Linked DNA regions of Homo sapiens: regions 2, 3, 4 and 5 are each linked to region 1. The links are contacts of gene promoters, found by promoter capture Hi-C in blood cells and fetal thymus (Javierre and others, 2016). All regions are on one chromosome and are shown on one strand. The core of a region is centred on a gene start or on the middle of the fragment in contact, and the rest is flanking DNA. Distances in the headings are between cores, read along the strand shown. Region 1 holds the start of ZNF45 (zinc finger protein 45). Region 2 holds the start of ZNF112 (zinc finger protein 112). Region 3 overlaps ZNF112 (zinc finger protein 112). Region 4 overlaps ZNF235 (zinc finger protein 235). Region 5 overlaps ZNF227 (zinc finger protein 227).

Evidence for each region. Contacts are between HindIII fragments. The CHiCAGO score rates a contact against its expected background, and 5 or more counts as called.
Region 2: a contact is called between a fragment that was not itself captured here and the fragment with the promoter of ZNF45 in region 1, in 1 of 17 cell types (M2 macrophages). The highest score is 6.0, in M2 macrophages.
Region 3: a fragment that was not itself captured here is called in contact with the fragment with the promoter of ZNF45 in region 1 in 3 of 17 cell types (M2 macrophages, erythroblasts and activated CD4 T cells); the score reaches 10.5 in M2 macrophages.
Region 4: a fragment that was not itself captured here is called in contact with the fragment with the promoter of ZNF45 in region 1 in 2 of 17 cell types (naive CD8 T cells and activated CD4 T cells); the score reaches 6.7 in naive CD8 T cells.
Region 5: a fragment that was not itself captured here is called in contact with the fragment with the promoter of ZNF45 in region 1 in 12 of 17 cell types (naive CD8 T cells, total CD8 T cells, activated CD4 T cells and 9 more); the score reaches 9.9 in naive CD8 T cells.

What each region holds. Positions count from the first base shown.
Region 1 is chr19:43,932,859-43,937,207 of GRCh38, forward strand. ZNF45 (zinc finger protein 45) reads right to left here and starts at 2,424. Exons shown (of 10, transcript NM_003425.4): 1 at 2,066-2,424; 2 at 1,568-1,836. It overlaps ZNF45-AS1 (ZNF45 antisense RNA 1), which reads left to right. Exons shown (of 3, transcript NR_184050.1): 3 at 1-2,956. The HindIII fragment of the contact is 8,828 bases long and covers 1-4,349 here.
Region 2 is chr19:44,353,496-44,357,844 of GRCh38, forward strand. It overlaps ZNF112 (zinc finger protein 112), which reads right to left and starts at 3,185. Exons shown (of 4, transcript NM_013380.4): 1 at 3,131-3,185. RefSeq lists an enhancer at 2,994-3,494. The HindIII fragment of the contact is 679 bases long and covers 1,966-2,644 here.
Region 3 is chr19:44,324,641-44,328,989 of GRCh38, forward strand. It overlaps ZNF112 (zinc finger protein 112), which reads right to left. Exons shown (of 4, transcript NM_013380.4): 4 at 1,915-4,349. The coding sequence ends at 2,793. Among named protein-coding and RNA genes, the nearest start is that of ZNF235, 22 kb to the left of the region's middle. The HindIII fragment of the contact is 893 bases long and covers 1,612-2,504 here.
Region 4 is chr19:44,285,718-44,290,066 of GRCh38, forward strand. It overlaps ZNF235 (zinc finger protein 235), which reads right to left. Exons shown (of 5, transcript NM_004234.4): 5 at 631-3,479. The coding sequence ends at 1,501. Among named protein-coding and RNA genes, the nearest start is that of ZNF235, 17 kb to the right of the region's middle. The HindIII fragment of the contact is 1,866 bases long and covers 1,399-3,264 here.
Region 5 is chr19:44,215,920-44,220,268 of GRCh38, forward strand. ZNF227 (zinc finger protein 227) reads left to right here. Exons shown (of 6, transcript NM_182490.3): 3 at 1,872-1,933. The coding sequence starts at 1,874. Among named protein-coding and RNA genes, the nearest start is that of ZNF227, 5.6 kb to the left of the region's middle. The HindIII fragment of the contact is 758 bases long and covers 1,372-2,129 here.

The DNA of each region.
Region 1 (4,349 bases), core at 1,174-3,673:
GTTAATATCTATTATGGGCTGAATTGTGTGTGCCTCTCTCAAAACGTTAAAGTCCTAACGCTCGGTATCTCAGAAATAACTGTCTTTGGAAATAGGGCCTTTAAAGAGGTGATGAAGTTGACTTACAGCAAGGGAGCTCACGCACACAGAGGGGAGAGGCCTTACAAGCCACCAAAACTGGTGACACCTTGATTTTGGACTTTTAGCCTCCAGAACTGTAACAAATACATTTCTGTATAATCCAGCCAATTTGTAGTATTTTCTTATGGCAGCCCTGGCAAATGAATATAATTGCCCCTCCCTTGGCCTTCATATATAAACGATTAGTGAGGCCTAGCATGGTGGCTCACACCTGGAATCCCAATACTTTGGGAGGCTGAGGTGGGCGGATCACTTGAGGTCGAGTTTGAGACCAGCCTGGCCAACATGGAGAAACCCAGTCTTTACTATAAACACAAAAATTAGCAGGGCGTGGTGACGGGCACCTGTAAAGCCAGAGGCAGGAGAATTGCTTGAACCCAGGAGGCAGAGGTTGCAGTGAGCTGAGATCGTACCACTGCACTCCAGCCTGGGCAACAGAGCAAGATTCCATCTCAAAAAAAACAAAAAACAAAAAACACAATTAATGATAATTATTAGTTTTTAAGCCTTACTGACTCATCATCTGGGTTTGTTTTAAAATACTCAAGGGAAAAAAAGTTGGTGGGAGAGGCAATAAGATTAGCAAGAATGGAAGCAGGGTGACTGTACATAAGAGTTCATTATATTTGGGTATGTTTGGATATTTCCATAGTAAAAAATAAGGGAATAACAACCCACTATGAATAGTGTGATAACAATTTCATAAAACACAGACAAAAACACATTAAAAACTGCTAAACAGAAATGCATTAAAATGTTAATAATTATCTATATCCTAGTATTAAGGAAATTTGTAATATTTTATATTTCTGTATTTTCTACATCCTGTACAGAGAACGTGCATCTCTATGATCAAAATATGAACTACTAATATTGCTTAAAATTAAATGAGAATTCTTTCAAAATTTTCTAAAGTCTAAACTCAACCTTGCTTTCAAAATCTTCTACAGTAAAATTCCAACCTCCCTCCCCAACTTGATCTCAAATGGCTCCTCTGCAGCCAGTTTCCTATGATTATTTATATGGATCATTTATCTATTTTATTTCCTAATTCTAAATTGGGATTTCAAACTGTGAGACCAAGGGTATTCAGATGTAAGGAACCCAAGTCTAGGACACAAATCCCACTGTTCTTACTAGCACTGTGATATAGGAAAGTAAATTAGGCTCTCTCCATTTCCTCATCTGTATAATTGGTGTAATAACAGTACCCATATCACAATACCCACATCACCTTTGTAAGGTGAACAGAACCCACAACACAAGGCCTTTGTGAAGGTTCAGTGTGTTAGTTTTTATAAAGCCCTCAGAGTGATACTCAGCACCCAATGTTTAACTAGTGTGACTAATATTCATGTCACATTTTCTCCAATTATACAATAACGGAACACTTCTGTAGCAGAAACATTTGCAAGGAATGAAATACCTTCTCGCACTCGGAACAGAAGAGGAAGGTGAATGCTAGGTCCTGTCACAGTGGGGCTCTGCTGCCAGAAGCCAGGATGCTCTCCTTCCTCCTCTCCCGCAGCATTCTTTCAGAAGTCAGGGCAGGGGAAGGAAAGGAGGCTGGGAGATTGCACGATCTTGTCTGAGATCCTGGAAAATCCACAGAGGATAACTCCAGACGCCACCTGTTGAGTGATGCACTCTTTCTTAAAAAACGGGTCAGGCATAGTCCAAGAACAGCCTCCTTTCCTGCAGGAATCAGAAAGAAGAGCCAGGCGCTTGCTGAAAAATGAATATTTTTTATTATGATAGTTTTAATATTAACGGCCGACATGTTGCCACATTCCTGTACTATTCCATACACATTTTACTTGTACTATATTACTAATTGTCAAAACAAATATATAAGGTTAATATTTCCTTTTGCAGAAGAGGAAACTAAGACCAGAAACTAAGCACCGAAAGATTAAGTTCTCACCCAACGTTACACCGCTAGGAAGCTACAGAGCTGTGGGAGGTGGGGGAAGGCGGGTCGGGCCGCTGAGAGCCCAGGAGATCCTCAGACGCCTCCCCATTCAGGTCCACTTCCAACCAGGGGACTCCCGAACCGCCCCGAACGCAGCAGCTCCGGATACAGTAAGGCAATCAGCTGCCCAGCCATTCAACTCCGCCCTCCGCTGCTCGCCGCAGCGTCTTTTCCTGCTGACCGAAGTGCGAGCCCTGCTGATCCTACGACCAAACCATAAAAGTTAAAACAGGTCGCGGGGTCCCAGGACTCACTCACTTCCACGAGAGGAATGAAGGCCGCGCTCTCAACCTCTTGCCGCGGAAGTGCCCGGGAGAGCAGGGAGCTCTGGAACTACATTTCCCAGCATCCCCGGGAGGAACGGAAGCCGCTGCCCCGCCCCCTGGGCGGAAGTGCGGGCTTCGACTCCCACGGCCGAATCTTATTTCTCAGAATCCCCAAGGGGAGCGGGCTTCGTGTTCTCGTCCTCAAATAGTCGAAGTACCACCGAACCCACTGAGCACTGGGGTATAGGTTCCTATTTCCCCAGGGGAGCAAATAACAAAGCCGCGCTTTCCCAGAGCTGAAGTGCCCCCAAAAGTCTGGACCACACGTCCCAGAATCCTCTGTAGGGCTGAGCTTCCCGCCAGCCTGCAATTTTCCTTTTGAATTAGCGGGGGGAGTCTAAGTCATTGCTTGTAGAGCTCAGCCTGCTTTTTCCTTTTGCCATTGTTCCCTTTTATACGTGACAGAAGTTGCGAATATGAAAAAAAAAAAGGAAAATACAAAGGAATGCTATGTGTGAGCTAAAAACAGAGGTAATAAAAGAGGTGGCCAGAGCCGCCCAGAGCAACAAGCCTTTTATAATATGGGTATGGATTCATCTGTGATTAAAAATGCTCAAAAAAGGAGATGCAATCATCCAGCAGGACATGAAACAAAAGCAGCAAAATTCTCCACTTTTCTTGCGCTTAGTTTTCTTTCATTCGCAGGATACTGAAGAAAGTATTATAGTATTGAATAGGCTCTATCCTATATAAAATCTTGAAAACATTCAGTTCAGATTAAGGAATCACATCACTTCTTGCTCTCAGAATCAGGAATCTGTAAAGGTGTCTTATGATTTGCCAAAGTGTCTATGAATATTCAGTAAGGAGAGGGAGGTGAAGTGAGGGATTAAGACATGAAGTGCAAAAAATACAGAAAGCTATACTATTCACTTTTCTCCTAGGTAGAAACTAAATATTTTTCCAAGTTTATTATGAAAGGGTAAAGAAGAAAAAATGGAAGTTGACTACATAGGAGTAGCTGTAAACATCTGAACAATGTTCAATTTAGGCTGAGGCAGGAGACCAGCAGGGCGTGATTCCAAGATCAGATAAGAAACCTGCTGAAACCAGCAAGTGATGGAAAGCAACCTGTAAGTTCCCTTTGCTACCTATCAGTATAAGACACTCCCACCAGCGCCGTGACGGTTTATAAATGCCATGGCAACACCTGGAAGTTACCAACCCCTTTTCTAGAGATTTCCGAGTAACTCACCCCTTAATTTGCATGTAATGAAAAGTTGGTATAAATATACCCAGCCAACAGCCCATATGCTGCTACTCTGGGCACACTGCCTGTGGGCTAGTCTTGGTCTGCAAGGAACAGTCACTGAGCTTTTAACACTGTTGATTCGATAAACCTGCTTTCTTCCGCTGCTGGCTTGCTGTTGAATTCTTTCCTGAGCAAAGCCAAGAAACTGCCCTGCATCAATGCCATTTCAAAATCTGGATAAGTACTCTCTCTACTTTAGTAAGAGGAAGAGAGAAATGTAATCACCCAATGGACTCATCTTGCCCACTGCCCAGAGAGAGCCAATTTATCAAGACAGGAATTGCAATAGAGAAAGAGTTTAATACACGTAGAGCTGGCTAAATGGGAGACCAGGGTGAAGACTGAACTCTGCCGTTTTTTCTTTTCTTACTCAAATTCCTATCTAAGGGTCTGGGGAGTCAAGCCCTCCAAACCATAAAGTCTCATGAGAGGGGTTTTAATTTAACCCTATATAATGTGACTTACTTTCCAACCTGTCATAACACCTCATGACGGATAAGAAAGGAAATCAAAATACTTCAACCCCAAATATGTTTCATTGCCCTATCATGAAATAGCCCTGCAAAGTTGTCCTTTGTGGAGAAAAATCTACATTCTGTAGAGAATCTCCTTTCCTTTTTCCAGGCCATTTTTTCTGATCCAGGAGAGAATCAACTAA
Region 2 (4,349 bases), core at 1,055-3,554, 420 kb after region 1:
ACAAAGGACTTATATCCAGAATATATAAATAGCTCTCAAAAATCAACAATAGGAAAAATATAACCCAATGTAAAACTGGGCAAAGCATGCATACAGACACTTCCGCAAAGAAGATATAAGGATGGCAAAGAAACAATAACAAAAAAAGAAATATCTGCTGAACACCATTAGCCATTAGGGAAATGTAAATTAAAGTCACAATGCTTAGAATGGCTAAAATAAAAAAAAATAAGGAAAATACTAAGTGCTGATGAAGATGTAAATAAACTGGAACTTTCTACATCATTAGTGAGAATGCAAAATGGTACAGATACTACAGTTTGGCATCTTATAAAGTTAAACATACATTCCCCATATGATCCAGTAACCACACTCCTGGCTTCGTACCCTACAGAAATAAGCACAAAAAAAACTGTACATGAATGTTTATATCAGCTCTATTCATAAATGCCAAAAAGTGGAGGAAAAAGTCTATCAACCAGAGAATAGATAAACTGTGATACATCCATAAAGTGGACACTTCTGTTAACCAGAAGTAAACAGAAATGAAGTATTGATACGTATAACAACTTTGATGAATGTCAAGAGCAATTTGCTGAGTAAAAGAATCCGGTCTCAAATGTTAACATATAGCATCAGTTCATTTATACGACATTCTCAAAAAGACAAAACTATAGCGTTTTAGTGGTTATGGTAGTTGCCAGTGGTTACAGGTATGGTGAGGGGTAATTATGAGGGAAGACATGAGGGGAGTTTTTGGGGTGATGGAACTGTTCTTTTTCTGACTACGGTAGTCGTTATACAAACTATGCCTGTGTTGTAATAGAATTGTATACCAAAAATAACAAAATAGTCAATGTCACTGTAAAAACATTTTTTAAAAACCTGTTTTAAAAACCTGGAAACACAACCTCAGTTATAAGGCATGGTCTATAAATGTTGTTACCATTTCTAACAATTTGTTTCTTAGGAATTTTTTTAGATTATCAAAACATAACCAATCATTGCTCTTCAACTCTTCAATACTCTGAAATAGTTGGTGGATTATATAACCTACCAATATTAAGTGAGATTAAGGAATATATCCAGGGGTTATTTCTATTCTATTTTGATACCTAATTCCAATTCCACACTGCAAATCCTTGATGCCAGCTGTCTGTTGAGTAGCTACTCTAACCATAAACCCTTAACAACCTTGTACGATGTGCTGGGCACATGGAGAAAAGTATGACATGGTCCCAGAAATAGAAGAACTTTCAGTGTATGGATTTAGATAAAGAGAAATAAGAAACAAAGAGCTATAAGACTTAGGCAAGGCAAACTCTATACTGGAACACAAAATTCATCACCATCCTTCTCCAAGGTACAATTCTCTTGCATCCCCTAGCTTCCTCAAGTAAGGACCATTCTGTAAGCTTCAACGAATGAAAACCTTAGAGTAGCTGCTGGCATTTCCCTTTCAAAGTCTTGGATATAAGCAATTTATGATCATCAACGTTTGGCAATTATGACAATCAATCAAACGATATTATACTAAGTCGATGTTAGAGATTTGCTTTAAAATACTGAAACAAAAAAAAAAGGGACAGGGAGTTGATACAAGACTGGCAAATGTTAACAAAGGTTGAAGCTGGGTGACGCTTCCACAGAATTATTTTAGTCATATTACATTTGGCTATGCTTACAAATTTCCATAGTAAAAACTTAAGGGAAAAATAAAAGCTATGAAGCCTATTTGGTTAAACATGGGTGAAAATCCAAAAAGAAGTCTACTGGAAGAGGAAAACATTGAAATATTAATATTGTTACTGTTATATCTTGTGGTTAGCATAATTTTTTTCTTTTACACTTTCTATACTTTCTTAATCTTTTACAATATGCAATAATTTATATAATCAGAATATGAACTATAAATATTTCAAATAAAATTAAATTACAGATAATTTTAAAAAATCAAAAATTCAAAGCTTATTAACCTTGCTTTCACGGTCCTCTAGTAAAATCCAAATATGTGTTCTGAAGCTGATACTAAACACATCAAGAACTAAGGCAATGGATGGAAACTATTTGAATTCAAATCCCAGCTCAGGCTCTTACCACCTGGGTGACCTAAAGATAAACCACCTATGCTCTATGTCTGTTTGCTTATCTTTAAAATGGGAATGGTGGTACCCAACCCAGGCTCAAAGGGCTCTTGTGAGGATTAAAGATGTTAATTCATATCAAACTCTTAGAATGATCAGCACTAAATGTTTAAATACTATCTTTATTACTCATGCCCAAGTACTCCCTCATCCGTTTCTGCATTTATTGAACAAATATCAGCGCATCTTCGAGCAGAATTTGCCAGTGAATGATGGAAATATCGTCTTCCCTGAAAAGAAAGGATGATAAGTACTACTCAGGTGAGACTCCGCTGCCAAGTGCCAAAGGGTCATTCCCTCCTTCTCCCTGCAGCCTTTTTCAAGAAGTCAAGGCTAAAGAAGGAAAGGAGGATGGGGGAAATCAGAACTCCTGCATGAATTACAATGGACTACCCAGACAGCCAGGAGTGATCCTGTCCTAAAGAAAAATCTCTCAGTGATCAGAAAAGGGCCAGGGATACTCTGCAGCTGGAGCTCTGACCCCATCCTGGGTTCACAGAAGCTTTCAGGGAACTGAGTCCTTCTCAGAAAATTAAAAAGTGCTAATAACAAGAGACCCATCTTCTACCACCTGTCAGGCTCTGTTCCAAGTCTTTTTATTTAACTCTCAAAAGAACTCCATTAGATAGATACTAGTACCATTTTAAAGAAAAAGAAACATAGGCAGAGAGATTAAGATACTCGCCTGTTATTATACTGCTAGGAAGTGGCAGAGCTGGTTGATGGTCAGGGGAAAGGGCTGGGGAAGTACAGAACCCAGGAGATCCCCAGTCCCTGCGATGTAGGATCTTGGACCCCCGGCGCTAAGTGGGGATGCGCCAGCTGCCCCACACTGGAGAAGGCTCATTCAAAGATAACACAAATCCCGCCCTTCGCCGCAAGTGGATTATCCTCCCCTAGAGCTACTGCCCGGTTGCTACTGGACCCCAACAAAACGAACATCAGTATGGACGGAAGGAGCAGGAAGCAGGGCGGGGAGCGCTCACCTTTCTGGGAGGAACGAAGGCCGCGGCCTAGCGTACCTGGGGCGGAAGTGGCTCTGCCTACCGAGACCTCCTGGACTACGCTTCCCAGAATTCCCGACGGGATCAGGGAGACGGCCTCAGCCTCCTAGAGCGGAAGTTACCCGACTACACGGGGCTCCCAAACTACATTTCCCAGAATTCCTAGAAAAACTCTCCACTTATCTGCCTGCCTAGGACGCAAGTACCGGGTGCCAAGCTGAGAGCCTGGATGATATTTCACATGTGCCGGTCCCAAAGGAATTCCTTAACTCCCCCTTCCTGGAACCGAAATGCTTCCAAAGACAGAGAGCTCGTATATATATTTCTCTGTTTTACCCAGCGGACCGTGCATGAAAGGCGCCTTTCCTGGCGCGTGTGTCTCTGACCCTGTGGATCTTCTGGACAATTCCCGGAATTTCTTGCAGGGTAGCACTTTCCCTTAAGTCGTCTCTTTCTCGTTTGGATAGTCAGTATTTGTATAGTCACTATTCTCTTTTGGTTAGCCATCCAATTTTATACTGCTAGTCCAGTTCTACTGCCTTCCCCCTAGAGTTTGAATTTATTTTTCTTCAAACGCGACACAAACCCAAATAAACTCAACCAAAGCGGACTTTACCTACCTACCTACCTACTTACCAAGAAAATATCCCATAAAGGAGAGAACAGAGAAGCTTGCAATACAGGAAGAAAAAAGAAAAGAATTACAGAATGGAAGCGATGTGTGCGCTAAAAATGCAGGTACTTAAAGGAAATTGGGCTGATTTGTACTGGACACCGAATTTAAGGAATACAGGATCTCAACCTTTCTTTGACTCGATTACCTTTTTATTCCATTTTGGTGTGGACGCGTCTGAAACTGATAGTGCTGCTGCTACCTACCATAATGTGTTTGTTGCAAGATCCACAAGAACGTGGATGCCAAGAATCCACAAAAAAACAGATGCAACCGTTGATGAGGCCATAAGCAGAAACAGTAAATGGTTCCCACGTTTCCTCTGCTTTAACTACTGATGATGAAATGCAAGTCATAAGGCAAATAGAAGGGCTGTACTGATACAGACAAAATGTTATTATTATGGGAAGGGATAAGTCTCTTGTAAAACCTCGAAATTTTTTTCTTCTTTGAGAAAAATCTATCACCTATTTTCACCCTGCTCTTGATATAGCAAATATTGTAAGTTGTCTTATGGAGGACAGGATG
Region 3 (4,349 bases), core at 808-3,307, 390 kb after region 1:
ACAAAACAGTAGAGACTGAAGACAACATTATTTTTTGCCTAAAACTGGGCACACATGTTCTGCTAGGATGTCAGGGTGGAGTGCTGAATTAATCTGGTCAGGAATCAAGCTGGAATTGGGTTTTGTTGTTGCAATATTTATCTTAGTTGTACCATGGCTTCAAATTTCTCTAGTGTTACCTTGTGCTTAGGGTGGGAACTGGAGTGCTAAAGTTTTCTCAATGTTCCTGTTGCCCCATCCTCAGCTTTTGGCCATCCCTTGGCACCAGGGCCAAGAAAGATTCTCCATGTTCTTCCCTTTTCTCACGGTAGCCTGCTGTTGCTTCTCACTAGGAATAGGCTAGGGGACCAGCGGTGTCCTTTGTTGTCTTGGTTAGTCTCAGTTGTTAGTGGGAATTGGAGTGTCAGAGATTCTATGCATTTTGGGGAGCCAGAACCACACAGGACTAAAATGGTACAGAATATCTCTTCCTTCGGCTGTGAAAAGAAAGCAGGTGATGCTGCTATATTGTGAACAACATGAAGACAAGAATTCACAAGAAAAGAGAGGTGAGAGAATTAAAAGAAAGCAATATAAAATCCCCCTACCTTACCCAGACCCTAGTCTTACACTATCTGTATCTTTTCATTTATATGAACTAAGAAACAGTTTTGGTTTAGGCAACTCTAAATTTTCTGTTACTTAGAACTAAAAGCATTCCAATTGATAAAACCACCATGAGCTCTCCCCTGTAAGTGATGATATCAAAGACATGCTTTAGAAGCCCTGGATTTCTGATGATACTGTGCAACTTGAACCAGCACCTCAAAAGCCAAGTTATGCCAGTGCTTTGGTCATCATATTCATCCAGCAAGGGGAAATCTGATGGAAAAGCCGTGAGCATCAATTTATAAAACTGGATTGCACTAGGACATCCTAGGCAACATGGATTTTGAGACCTAAGGAAATTTCACAGAAATATAAAGTTATGGACACCTAATTTATCTGTATTCTTAAAAATCCAGGAAATTTTAAGAACTAACTTCAGGGGGTTTATTCTTTACTGTTGTTGGTCATAATGTCATACAGTGAAATCAAGCAATCATATCATGAGTTCTTAAGTATAAGAGATAATATATCAATAGCTGTTTACTGCTTTGGTGTAATTGGTAAATGTCCATTATAAATATTTTTAAATAAAGCACAGAAAAACTAAGCCAAAAATTTCTTTCCAGAGAAAACTACTGTGGATATAATAATGAGTAATCTTTCACACATTATCTATAAGCATATATTTGAACATACATGCACACAGGCTTAAATTAGCTGGCTATTATGAACGTACAGTCCAGGTTTTTACTAAACAATATGCATGATCCATTCTTGTCATTTTAGAGCTAAATCATACTTTCTGTAGATCCATAGTATAGAACATACAGAAACTTACCCAAATTCATATTGATGGACATTTACTTCCAGCTTAAAACATTACTATCATTGTAAAATCCTTTCTTACTGCTAAAATTGCTTAATTATAAATTACTGTTCTACGATTTCCAGATCGGTATGCACATTTTACATTCCGATATATATGGGGGGCTTGATAAGTATTTTGATATATATAGAACGACAAGCTTGTATTTTTCACTTTCGCCAACAAAATGCATCATTCTTGAAGACAGACACTAGCAAGTAAATGGCAACCCTATCCTGCTAGTCAATACATTGATAAATATGCTTAGAAAAATTCAAGATTTTCCCTTTTTTTGTGTGTGAGTGGGAGAAGTATGGGAATGGAAAACTTGACAAAATTAAAATCTTTCAAACTTGACCCTGCTTAAGGAGGTGTGGATTGGACAAAGGCTACAACATTTAGAAATCAGTCAGATCAAATGGACTTTTAGAGAAATATGGAGAATAAAAAAACCCCAAGTATTGTGATTTTGACATTTATTAAAAAGTATTTGTCATCAGTAACCATTTTGGATACTTGCAAATATTACAGTAAAACTCTGCCTTAATTCACAGGGCAGGAGTAGAAAATCAATTATGTAAAATACAGTGTTCCATTTTTGCAACATTAACCAGAAACATTGTTTATCAGTTTGTACTGATATTTCAAGTGCACACATGGGTACATATACACACACACAAAGCTAAACTTCAGCAGATGGTATAATGTATAGAGACCAAACGTTAAGAAATGCAGCACATCTCTGCTCAAGATGGAACAAAGGGTGGGAACTAACCCCAATAGGGTTACAATCAAATTAATGTTATTTCAGATCATCATAATGCTTATTGTTCTACATTTCAAATATTTACTTGAAATGATTTTATTAAGATTACTTGCAGGATTTCTCCTCCAAATACATTTTAAGTTTTAAAAAATGCGCTTAAAAATTTCAAACCTTTTACCTTTACATACTTTTAGTTATTTAGCAAAAAGTACTGAGCACCTACATTGCGTTATGAAATGTCCTAGTTTTGTAGACTAGCAATGAACAAAGTCCCTTCTTTCACCAAGCTTACATTCTAGAGAACATGGATTTAGGCATGCTCATCACTGTACTTTTATTAAATTCCTGACCATACTCATATTTTATAAGCCTTAGCTCCTGTGCAATGACTGATGTTAAAGTTCTAACAAAATCCCTCGTGAAACCCCTCTCATTAAATGTCTCTGTTGTGTGGTCTCCTGGCCATTATGAATGTTGAAGTTGGGCAGCAACATTACATTTTAATTTTTAAAAATTCTTTTTCTACTGAAAGAACTCTAGTGACTGGAAAATTTCAGCTCCCATTTGAGGACTTCAAAACAAAACAGAATCTTCATTTCTGTGTAGATTCTCTGATGAAGGGTAGTCCTTACCATAGTCTTCGCTTTTATAGAATTTATCACTACTATGGACTCTTTGATGAATGAGAAGACCTGAGCTCCAACGGAAACCCTTACCACATGCATCACATTTGTATGGTTTCTCTCCTGTGTGGACTCTCTGGTGAGCCTGAAGATTTGATCTCTGACTGAAGCCCTTTCCACATACCTCACATTTGTATGGTTTCTCTCCTGTGTGGACTCTGTGATGGGCTTGAAGACTTGAATACCCACTGAAACCCTTACCACACTGTTCACATTTATAGGGTCTCCCTTCCACATGAACCCTTTGGTGTGCTTGAAGGCGTGAACTCTCACTGAAACCCTTTGTACACACCTCACATTTGTATGGTTTCCCTCCTGTGTGAACCCTCCGATGTGCTTCAAGGCGCGAACTCTGACTAAAGCCCTTCCCACACATCTCACATTTATACGGTTTCACTCTAGTGTGGACTCTCTGATGACCTTGAAGATATGCTCTCTGACTGAAGCCCTTTCCACATACCTCACATATATATGGTCTTTCTCCAGAATGGACACTCTGATGACTCTGAAGGTATGATCTCTGACTGAAACTCTTACCACACTCATCACATTGGTATGGCTTCTCTCCCGTGTGGACCCTCTGATGGGCCAAAAGTGTTGAGGCCTTACTGAAGCCTTTACCACATTCTTCACATTTATAGGGTTTTTCTCCTGTGTGAACCCTCTGATGAATTTGAAGATTAAAGCTCCAACTGAACCCCTTCCCACATTCCTCACATTTGAATGGTTTTTCTCCAGTGTGGACTCTCTGATGGCCTTGAAGGTGTGAACTCCGACTGAAGCCCTTCCCACACTCCTCACACTTGTATGGTTTTTCTCCAGTGTGAACTCTCTGATGGCCTTGAAGGTATGAATTTCGACTGAACCCCTTCCCACATTCCTCACATTTATAAGGTTTTTCTCCAGTGTGGACTCTCTGATGGGCTTGAAGATATGAACTCCGACTGAATCCCTTATCACATTCCTCGCATTTATAAGGTTTCTCTCCTGTGTGGACTCTCTGATGAACATTCAGAACTGATCTATGATTGAAACCTTTGCCGCATATATTGCATTTGTATGGCTTCTGTCCAGTGTGGACTCTCTGATGATCTTTAAGTTTTGAGCTCCAGTTGAAGCCATTCCCATGCTCCTTACGTGGTTTCTCTCCAATGTGAATTTTTGGATGACCTTGAAGATATAAATTATGGCTGAAGCTGTTACTACACACATAGCGTTTATATGGTTGTTCCTTAGTGTGGACTATCTGAAGGTCCTGAAAATGTGAGGCCAGACTGAAGCCATTACCACACTCCTCAGAATTATATGAATTCTCTTCCATATGAACCCTATGCTGAATGTCAAGATTTGAACTACAAATGAAACTCTTTCCATACTCTATATCTGTGTATAGTTTCTCTTCAGTGTGGATTTTTTGATGGACTTGAAGACATGAACTCTGATTAAA
Region 4 (4,349 bases), core at 1,082-3,581, 350 kb after region 1:
AACCTAGTTTTCTCATGAATAATGTCTTCTCTAGTCATTACAGACCTCTGATCATCTTAATGGCTGTATATTATAAGGATATATCAAGACTTACTCAAATATTTTACTTTTTCCTTTTTGAATTCAGGATAAATATCCTTGTGTACAATCTTTCTCGCTTTTGTCACAATCTCCTAAGTGAAATTTCTAGTGCTAGGACTGCCAGGGCAAAGAGTATTTATTGTCCACTAATACCAAGAGGTCTTAAGCATAGAATGCTGTGTAAGTGGTAATCCATCTAAATCATTACACTGAATACAATTTCAAGGTTGGGCACAGAGGTTCACATCCATAATCTCAACACTTCGGGAAGCCAAGGTGGGAGGAATGCTTGAGGCCAGGAGTTTGAGACCAACCTGGGCAACACTGCAAGGCTCTATTAAACAAAATAAATAAACAATAAGATACAATTTCAATAAAGACTCAACAGGTTTCTTGCCCTGCCACTTCCTTTTAAGGGGATAAATGTGACAAATTAACATGCCTGAAATCTGCCAAAGCTCCTTCTAAAGCGGCCTACATGGAGGAAAGACTACACATAGAAAAGCAACTTGACCTGAACCTGAATGAAAATAATGAAAGGAAACCAAGTATTAACAATTCAAGTTTACTAAGAAACTTTTTGTCATCAGTAACTACTTTTAACACTTTCAGAGTTACAGTACAGCTTAGTGTCCAAAAATTCTAATCATGTAAATTGCAGGGTCACATTAGATAAAAACAGTATTGTTCAGTCTATAAACTGACACTAAAAATCATACTGTACACAACTGATGATACACTGTACAAAGAACTAAGGCTGAAGGATGGGAGCCATTCATGTCTTTTTTCCAAATTTGTGTTAGTATGGATGGCAGTATTATATACTTTTCAGTACTTACTGAAACTAACGTTATTAAGGCTACTTGCAGGATTCCTTTTGAATATAAATTAATATAAATTTAGAGTAGAAAACAGACTAGAATTTTCAAGTATTTGTCCTAATTATAGGTATTTTCTTCACTTTCTTCAGTAATTGCTGGGCCCTATTATGAGCCAAGCACAATTCTACATGGTAGAGATAGAGTGGTGAAAAACACCTCCTTACATAGAGGTTACATTTTAGTTGACATCCATTTTTTCTGTCAATCATACTTTTGTTAAAGGAAGGCCTCTCTCCTGTGCAGACTCCGACAAGACTTTTCTGCTGTGTTACATCTTGAGAACCGGGACACCTGGTACTCTGATATAAACACTGATCATATTTACAGAACAAAGTTTTCTCGCATCTGTGAAATATGACGTTTGTAAAGAATTCATGTCCTAACCAAGTCTAAAACACAGCATTTGAGAGACTTCTTTCCTGTCAAGATTCTTTGAAGCTTCTAGTTTTAAAGGAACTTTTCACAATCATCAGCATGGACTTCCCAACGGAGACAAAGATGTGAGCTCTAACTGAAGGCTGAACCACACCTCTCATTTCTACAGATTCCCTCCAGTGTGGACTCTCTGATGGTAGATGAGATGTGACCTCTGACTGAAGCCCTTACAACAGACATCACATATGTAAGGCCTCTCTCCAGTGTGGACTCTCTGGTGTGTGTGAAAATGTGAGGCCTGACTGAAGCCCTTCCCACACTGCTGACACGTATAGGGTTTCTCTCCTGTGTGGACCCTCTGATGGGCACTGAGACCAGCACTCCAACTGAATTCTTTCCCACATTCCTCACATTTAAATGGTTTCTCTCCAGTGTGAATTATCTGATGGACTTGAAGATTTGACCTCTGGCTGAAGGCCTTACCACAAGTGTCACATTTATATGGTTTCTCTCCGGTGTGGACTCTCTGATGGGCTTGAAGGTGTGAGGCCTGACTGAATCGCTTCTGACATGCATCACACTTGAATGGTTTTTCCCCAGTGTGGACGCTCTGATGGGCTTGAAGATTTGAAGCCTGACTGAAACCCTTACCACACTCTTCACATTTGTAGGGTTTCTCTCCGGTGTGGACTCTCTGATGATTGTGAAGATTCAAGCTCCAATTGAAGCGCTTCCCACACACTTCACATTTGTATGGTTTTTCTCCAGTGTGGACTCTCTGATGTGCTTGAAAGTATGAACTCTGACTGAAGCCTTTCCCACACACGTTGCATCGAAATGGTTTCTCTCCTGTATGGACCCTCTGATGGCTCTGGAAACTTGAGGCTGAACTAAAACCCTTACCACACTCTTCACATTTATATGGTTTTTCTCCTGTGTGGACTCGTTGATGACTATGAAGATTAAAGCTCAAACTAAAGCACTTACCACACTCATCACATTTGTATGGTTTTTCTTCAGTGTGGACTCTCTGATGGGTATGAAGATTTGAGCTACAACTAAAGCGTTTACCACAATCCCCACATTTATATGGTTTCTCTCCAGTGTGAATTCTTTCATGGGCCTGAAGATGTGATCTCTGAGTGAAGCCCTTCCCACACACCTCACATTTATAAGGTTTCTCTCCAGTGTGAACTCTGCAATGAATGTTAAGATCTGTGCTACGACTGAAGCCCTTCCCACAACTGTCACATCTATAGGGCTTCTCTCCTGTGTGAATAGGCAAATGAGCATAAAGATGTGAGCTCTGATTAAAGCTCTTACCACACTCGTGGCATGTATAGGGTTTCTCCCCTGTGTGGACTCTCTGATGAGTTTGCAGATTTGAGCTCTGACTGAAACCTTTACCACATTCATGACACCAATAGCGTTTTTTCCCAGTACGAACACTTTGTTGAACAGGAATACCTGAGCTATAACTGGTGTCCTTCTCATGTGTACTACACGCTGGAGACTTCTTTCCCAAGTGTACCTGTTTATGAAGTTCAAGACTGGAGCTATCATTGAAGGCTTCTTCACATTCATTACCCTGGTAGGTTTTCTGTCCTGTGTGAATACTACGCTGGGTAAGAGGTGATACCTTTAGGGTATCTTTACCACAATCACTATTGCTATGAACTTTATCTCTTTTGTGCACTATATTATCATCATGGTGGTGTGAAATACAACTGAAAATGTCAACATATGGAGCAAATATACATAGTTTGTTTTTCATCTGAGTCTGCTTACAACTTCTCTGATAATTCTGTGTCTCATTCAGATATATTTTACTCCAAGAATTCGGAACTTTCCCAGTTGGAAATTCTTGATTTTCAATGATACTGGAATGATCCCCTATGTGATTCACTAGACAGTTGTCATCCACAGAAGCTTGAATAGATTCTCCTGCTCCCACTTGACAGGGGGAATCATGGTGCTTGGGGAACTGAGAGCTCTTTCCTTCAATATTTATCATGGAGTCTTGACTTCTGGCTAATTTGCTCGCAATGTGTCTCTTGATTTGCCAGCATGAAAGCTCTCCCAGTGAAAAGCACCTTAATCCTGCTTTGTGAAGAGTTGCCATCTCATTTTGATTCCTGTCTCCTGAAAGGATAGAGAGAATAAGGAATAAAGGACCAAGAGACTGACATTAGCAAAGTAGAGAATTAAGATCTAAGCTCTCATTTTCCCCATGGAAACGTCAAAAAAACAACTAGACTGGCTGAAATAAATTTATAGGAACTCTGAAAAGCAGCTGCAACCAAGAGAACACCAAATGTTTTAAAAAGCCATATTTAAGATAGAAAATTTGAGATCAGCCCAGGGTATGGTTAAGGTGTATCTTGGGTCTTTTCTGAGTATGAGTCTTGCTGCCTGTGTGTATTCTCCAGTATACACAACTCCAAAGTGAATGCTTTGTCCAGATGTTTCCAAATTTTACACATAGTTCCTTCGGTATCAGGCTTTAGTTCATGATGGAAACTTTCAGCTTATCTTTACCATCACAGATTTTCCTGGATTTTATTTGCCTCTCGAAACACAGAACTACAGATCTAAGAATAGGACAAGAGGTAGAAACCAGCCAACTGCAGAACAACAAAATGATATCTCAGTAAGTACTTAGAAAGGAAAAATTGACTTCTTTGCCTATAAGAATGGTAAATTAAAAGTCACCTCTTCTTTGGCTACAGCAACTGAATCGTAAGTAGCAACTACATAAATCAGGCAAAATATATGCCTCAATTATAGGCTCTCATTATACAACCTGCACATCTAGAAACATGCTCAAAATAACTGATAGACAAATCCATATTTATAGCTGGAGATTTCAATACCCCTTTCCAACAGCTAGTAAACCAAGTAGGAAGATATGTGGTGGCACTCATGTAACTGAGTCCGTGCTGTGAAAGGGACAGCTGCCCTGGCCCCTTGGGGGTCAGAAGTCACCATGCCAAGGGCTGTGTGAAAGGTGCT
Region 5 (4,349 bases), core at 501-3,000, 280 kb after region 1:
AGAGGTTGCAGTGAGCTGAGATTGTGCCATTGCACTCCAGCCTGGGTGACAAGAGCGAAACTCTCTCTCTAAAAAAAAAAAAAAAAAAAAAGATGTACCTTTAAAAAAAAAAAAAAAAAAGCTATGTTTTTATAGGTCTACTTTTTATTATAACCACCCTCAAAATTTGTCATTATAGTTCTTTGGCTTTTTTTAAACAAAGATTATTATATTACCAATATAGTCACAAATGTTTTCTTACCATTGCTTTTTGCAGTCCATCTTTTAGGGTTCACATGGTTATAAATTCTCTTCATTTTTTTTTTCAGCTAAAATATTGTTTCTTTCTCATGTAAATAATCATCTAGTTGAACATAGAATTCAGGTTGACAGTTTCTTTATTTTGGAGGTAATATTCATTTGTTTTAAATCTCCATTCTGTTACCCTATTTCTGTCAATCTAATTGTTATTTCTTTTAGGTCAACTATATTTTCTTTCTAGGAGCTTTAAGGTTGTTGTTTCCAGTTCTTTATGTTCGTTTAGTCTTTTGCATTTCTGAGTTTTATTGTGATTTGTTTAGGGTATGTTTATTTTTATTTATACTGTTTAGAATTTCTATATGCGAACTTGTATCTTTTACCAATTGTGTGAAATTCTCAGCAATTGCATCTTGAAATTAAAACCTCTCAGTCATTCCCTCCATCCTGCCTTCTCTTCTCCCATTCCTGTTAGACAAATACGGAAGCCTCTCAATTTATCTTTCATGTTTCTTGATTTTTCGTTTGTGCTTTATCTTTCTCTTTGCTGTGTGTTTTTCTCTGTGCACATAAAATAAAAGAGATGTACCAATGATCGTTTCCAGGCTTCATGAAGTAAATTGACCCAGAATGATACGTTTTAGAAAACTGATAACAGTGTCAGTAAAATATTACTAGCTGGGCAACAAATTACTAAAAAGAAACCTTAAGTCAGATTTCGGCTTTTCAGAAATTAAAGGTGACTTTCATAGGAGAGCAATATTTGCAAGGCAAGTGTGTGATGCAAAGTATCATCTGCTTGTTTTTTTTTTTTTTTTTTTTTTGAGACAGAGTCTCACTGTGTCATCCAGGTTGGAGTTCATTGGCGTGATCTTGGCTCACTATAACCTCCACCTTCCAGGTTCTAGCAATTCTCATGCCTCAGCCTCCCAAGTAGCTGGGATTACAGACCCGCACCACCACGCCTGGCTGATTTTTTTTATTTTTGGTAGAGATGAGGTTTTGCCGTGTTGGCCAGGCTGGTCTCAAACTTCTGACCTTATGTGATCCTCCCTCCTTGGCCTCCTAAAGTGCTGGGATTACAAGCATGAGCCACTGTGCCAGGCCTGGCTAAACAGCAAGAAGCCATGAAGAAGCTTTTTTGTAACTATAAGAGAAAGGGACTCCTGGTTCTTAGAACTCTCCATCTACTTATTTAATCCTTGGAAAAACCCTATGAGGGAGGTACGATTTATGATTCTTACCATATCCTCATTGTACACATAACAGAAGTGAGGCACAGAGAGGGTTTTTAATATCCCCAAGGTTACACAGCTGGTAAGTATCATTTCTAGGAATTAAACCCAGATACTTGACTTGAGAGCCCTCATATGTTGTTACATTGCCTCTCGTTTCCTGCTGTCTCTGCCATCAGAAATCCTTGTAGCAAGGATGCTGCACTTGTGCAGACTGTTCACTGCCCAATGGCACTGAACTATCATGCCATTTAGTAGCTGGAATACAGTCCATGTTCTGCTTACCAAGCTGTATGTGGCTATACCTGTCTGAATGTAGGGCTATTTCTCTAATTTCCTCATATGTACACATGGGCTAACAGCAGGCTTGTGTCTCATGGCGTCTTTGGTCTCCCCCAGTTATGCCATCTCAGAACTATGACCTTCCCCAGAAGAAGCAGGAGAAAATGACCAAGTTTCAGGTACGTAAAGGATTCCTTGCTGTCTTTTAAAATGTGATTTATTTCTCAAAGATAACAGATTTATTTTTTCTCTTTCTTGGAAAGGTTAGTGGGAAACAGATATTCAGGACATGTGGTATGCTGACATGTATGTGTTTTTTTGTTTTAGTTTATCACCTTTACTATTTTACAAAACAGTGTTTGAAAAAATAATAGAAGCTTTAATCAGAAATAATCTATGCTACTACCCTGCTTATGAACTAGCTTTTTTCATTTTCCCATGTTCCTTTTTCATACACATTTTGCAATACTTGAGTAGATGAAATTTTCAATTGTGCATTCTCCACTTAATTGCATCACCTGCATTGTAAGTGAGTACATCATATGCCATTGAATTGCAGTGCCCTTAAAAGACAACAAAAACTATTTCTTATTTAGCCTTTCAGAAATTCAGAAATTTTAAGAATTTTACTACTTTAAAGTAAATCCAGTGACTTTTTTCCCTACATATAAAAACAATTCCTTCAAAAGAAATTCTGGTGGAATTCAATATTATTTGTCCTTAAAGTTTTAGGAACTCTGCATTGAAGAGGTTTATGTCTCAGTTTCATGTCAGTTCCCTCAGGTGTTTTGTAAACAGAACATCTAAAGAATGACATGGTGTAATTTTATTAGATGCTTTCAGAGAAGAAGAGCTATATATTTTTCCCGTTTATGTTTTTATCACTCATTTATTTCTTGTATGAATTTATTTCATCAAAGTAACTACATGTACGTAAGGTCTAGTAGTACTTAGATGTCTTGCTAGCCCTTTCCATCTGTCATTGCATTTTTCAGATGTGAGGATGGAGATGATTTATTTGCATTTTAAATATGAAGAAACAGGTTATGGGAACATTTTATAACTGCCCCAAATTTCCCAGGTAGCTGACTCATTGGACACTGAAGCTTCCAACTATTAGGAATATCTGGCATTCTATTTTCATGTAAAGGCAGACAGAACAAAAGAGTTTTCCATTCACAGAGATGAGCACATATGATAGAAGTACCTGATGTTACCTTTTTATTCTTTTGAGACAGAGTTTAATTCTTGTCACCCAGGCCGGAGTGCAATGGCATGTTCTTAGCTCACTGCAACCTCTGCCTCCCAGGTTCAAGCGATTCTCCTGCCTCAGCCTCCCAAGTAGCTGGGATTACAGGCATGTACCAGCACGCCTGGCTAATTTTGTATTTTTATTAGAGACGGGGTTTCACCACGTTGGCCAGGCTGGTCTTCAACTCCTGACCTCAGATGATCCACCCACTTCGGCCTCCCAAAGTGCTGGGATTATAGGCGTGAACCAGTGCACCTGGCCCTGATATTACCTTTTGGAGGATAGACCCCAACAATGCCCCTCATCCAGTTTCCATCTCAATTACTGTCTCTTCTCTAGTTTTGTCTCTTAGTCATTCCATGAACGTAGATGCTCAAGCACAGTTTTTATGTAAGTGTTTTAAATTTCCCTACAGCAAAAGCTATCAGGTATGATGGTAAGAGACAGCAGCAAACCGGTGGCATATACTTAAACATTAGGTAAAGGTCTAATAGCTTAAATTCCTGTTAAGATTAGTAATATAGAGAAAATTCCAACTGGAATATGAGCAAAAGAAATGAATAGGAGTGTCATAAAGAAAAGAAATTTATGAAAAAAACTTCACTAATAATTTAAATGTGTGAAAATGTTAATAAAATAGCTTTCTATTTATATATTGGTTTTACTTATATTGTCAATGACTTTTTTAGAAAAAGGAACTGAGTCCTATTTAGCCGGGGTCTAGAGATTCAGGAATGCTTGTACTGTTGCATGAAGAGTGAACTGGGAAAATCTTTGGAGAGGAAAATCTGCCATTACGCTTTCAAAACTTTTTTTTTTGGATGTTGATTTTCTTTTATTTATTTATTTATTTATTTATTTATTATTATTATACTTTAAGTTTTAGGGTACATGTGCACAATGTGCAGGTTTGTTACATATGTATACATGTGCCATGTTGGTGTGCTGCACCCATTAACTCGTCATTTAGCATTAGGTATATCTCCTAATGCTATCCCTCCCCACTCCCCCCACCCCACAACAGTCCCTGGAGTGTGATGTTCCCCTTCCTGTGTCCATGTGTTCTCATTGTTCAATTCCCACCTATGAGTGAGAACATGCAGCGTTTGGTTTTTTGTCCTTGCGATAGTTTGCTGAGAATGATGGTTTCCAGTTTCATCCATGTCCCTACAAAGGACATGAACTCATCCTTTTTTATGGCTGCATAGTATTCCATGGTGTATATGTGCCACATTTTCTTAATCCATCTATCGTTGTTGGACATTTGGGTTGGTTCCAAGTCTTTGCTATTGTGAATAGTGCCAGAATTAACATATGTGTGCATGTGTCTTTATAGCAGCATG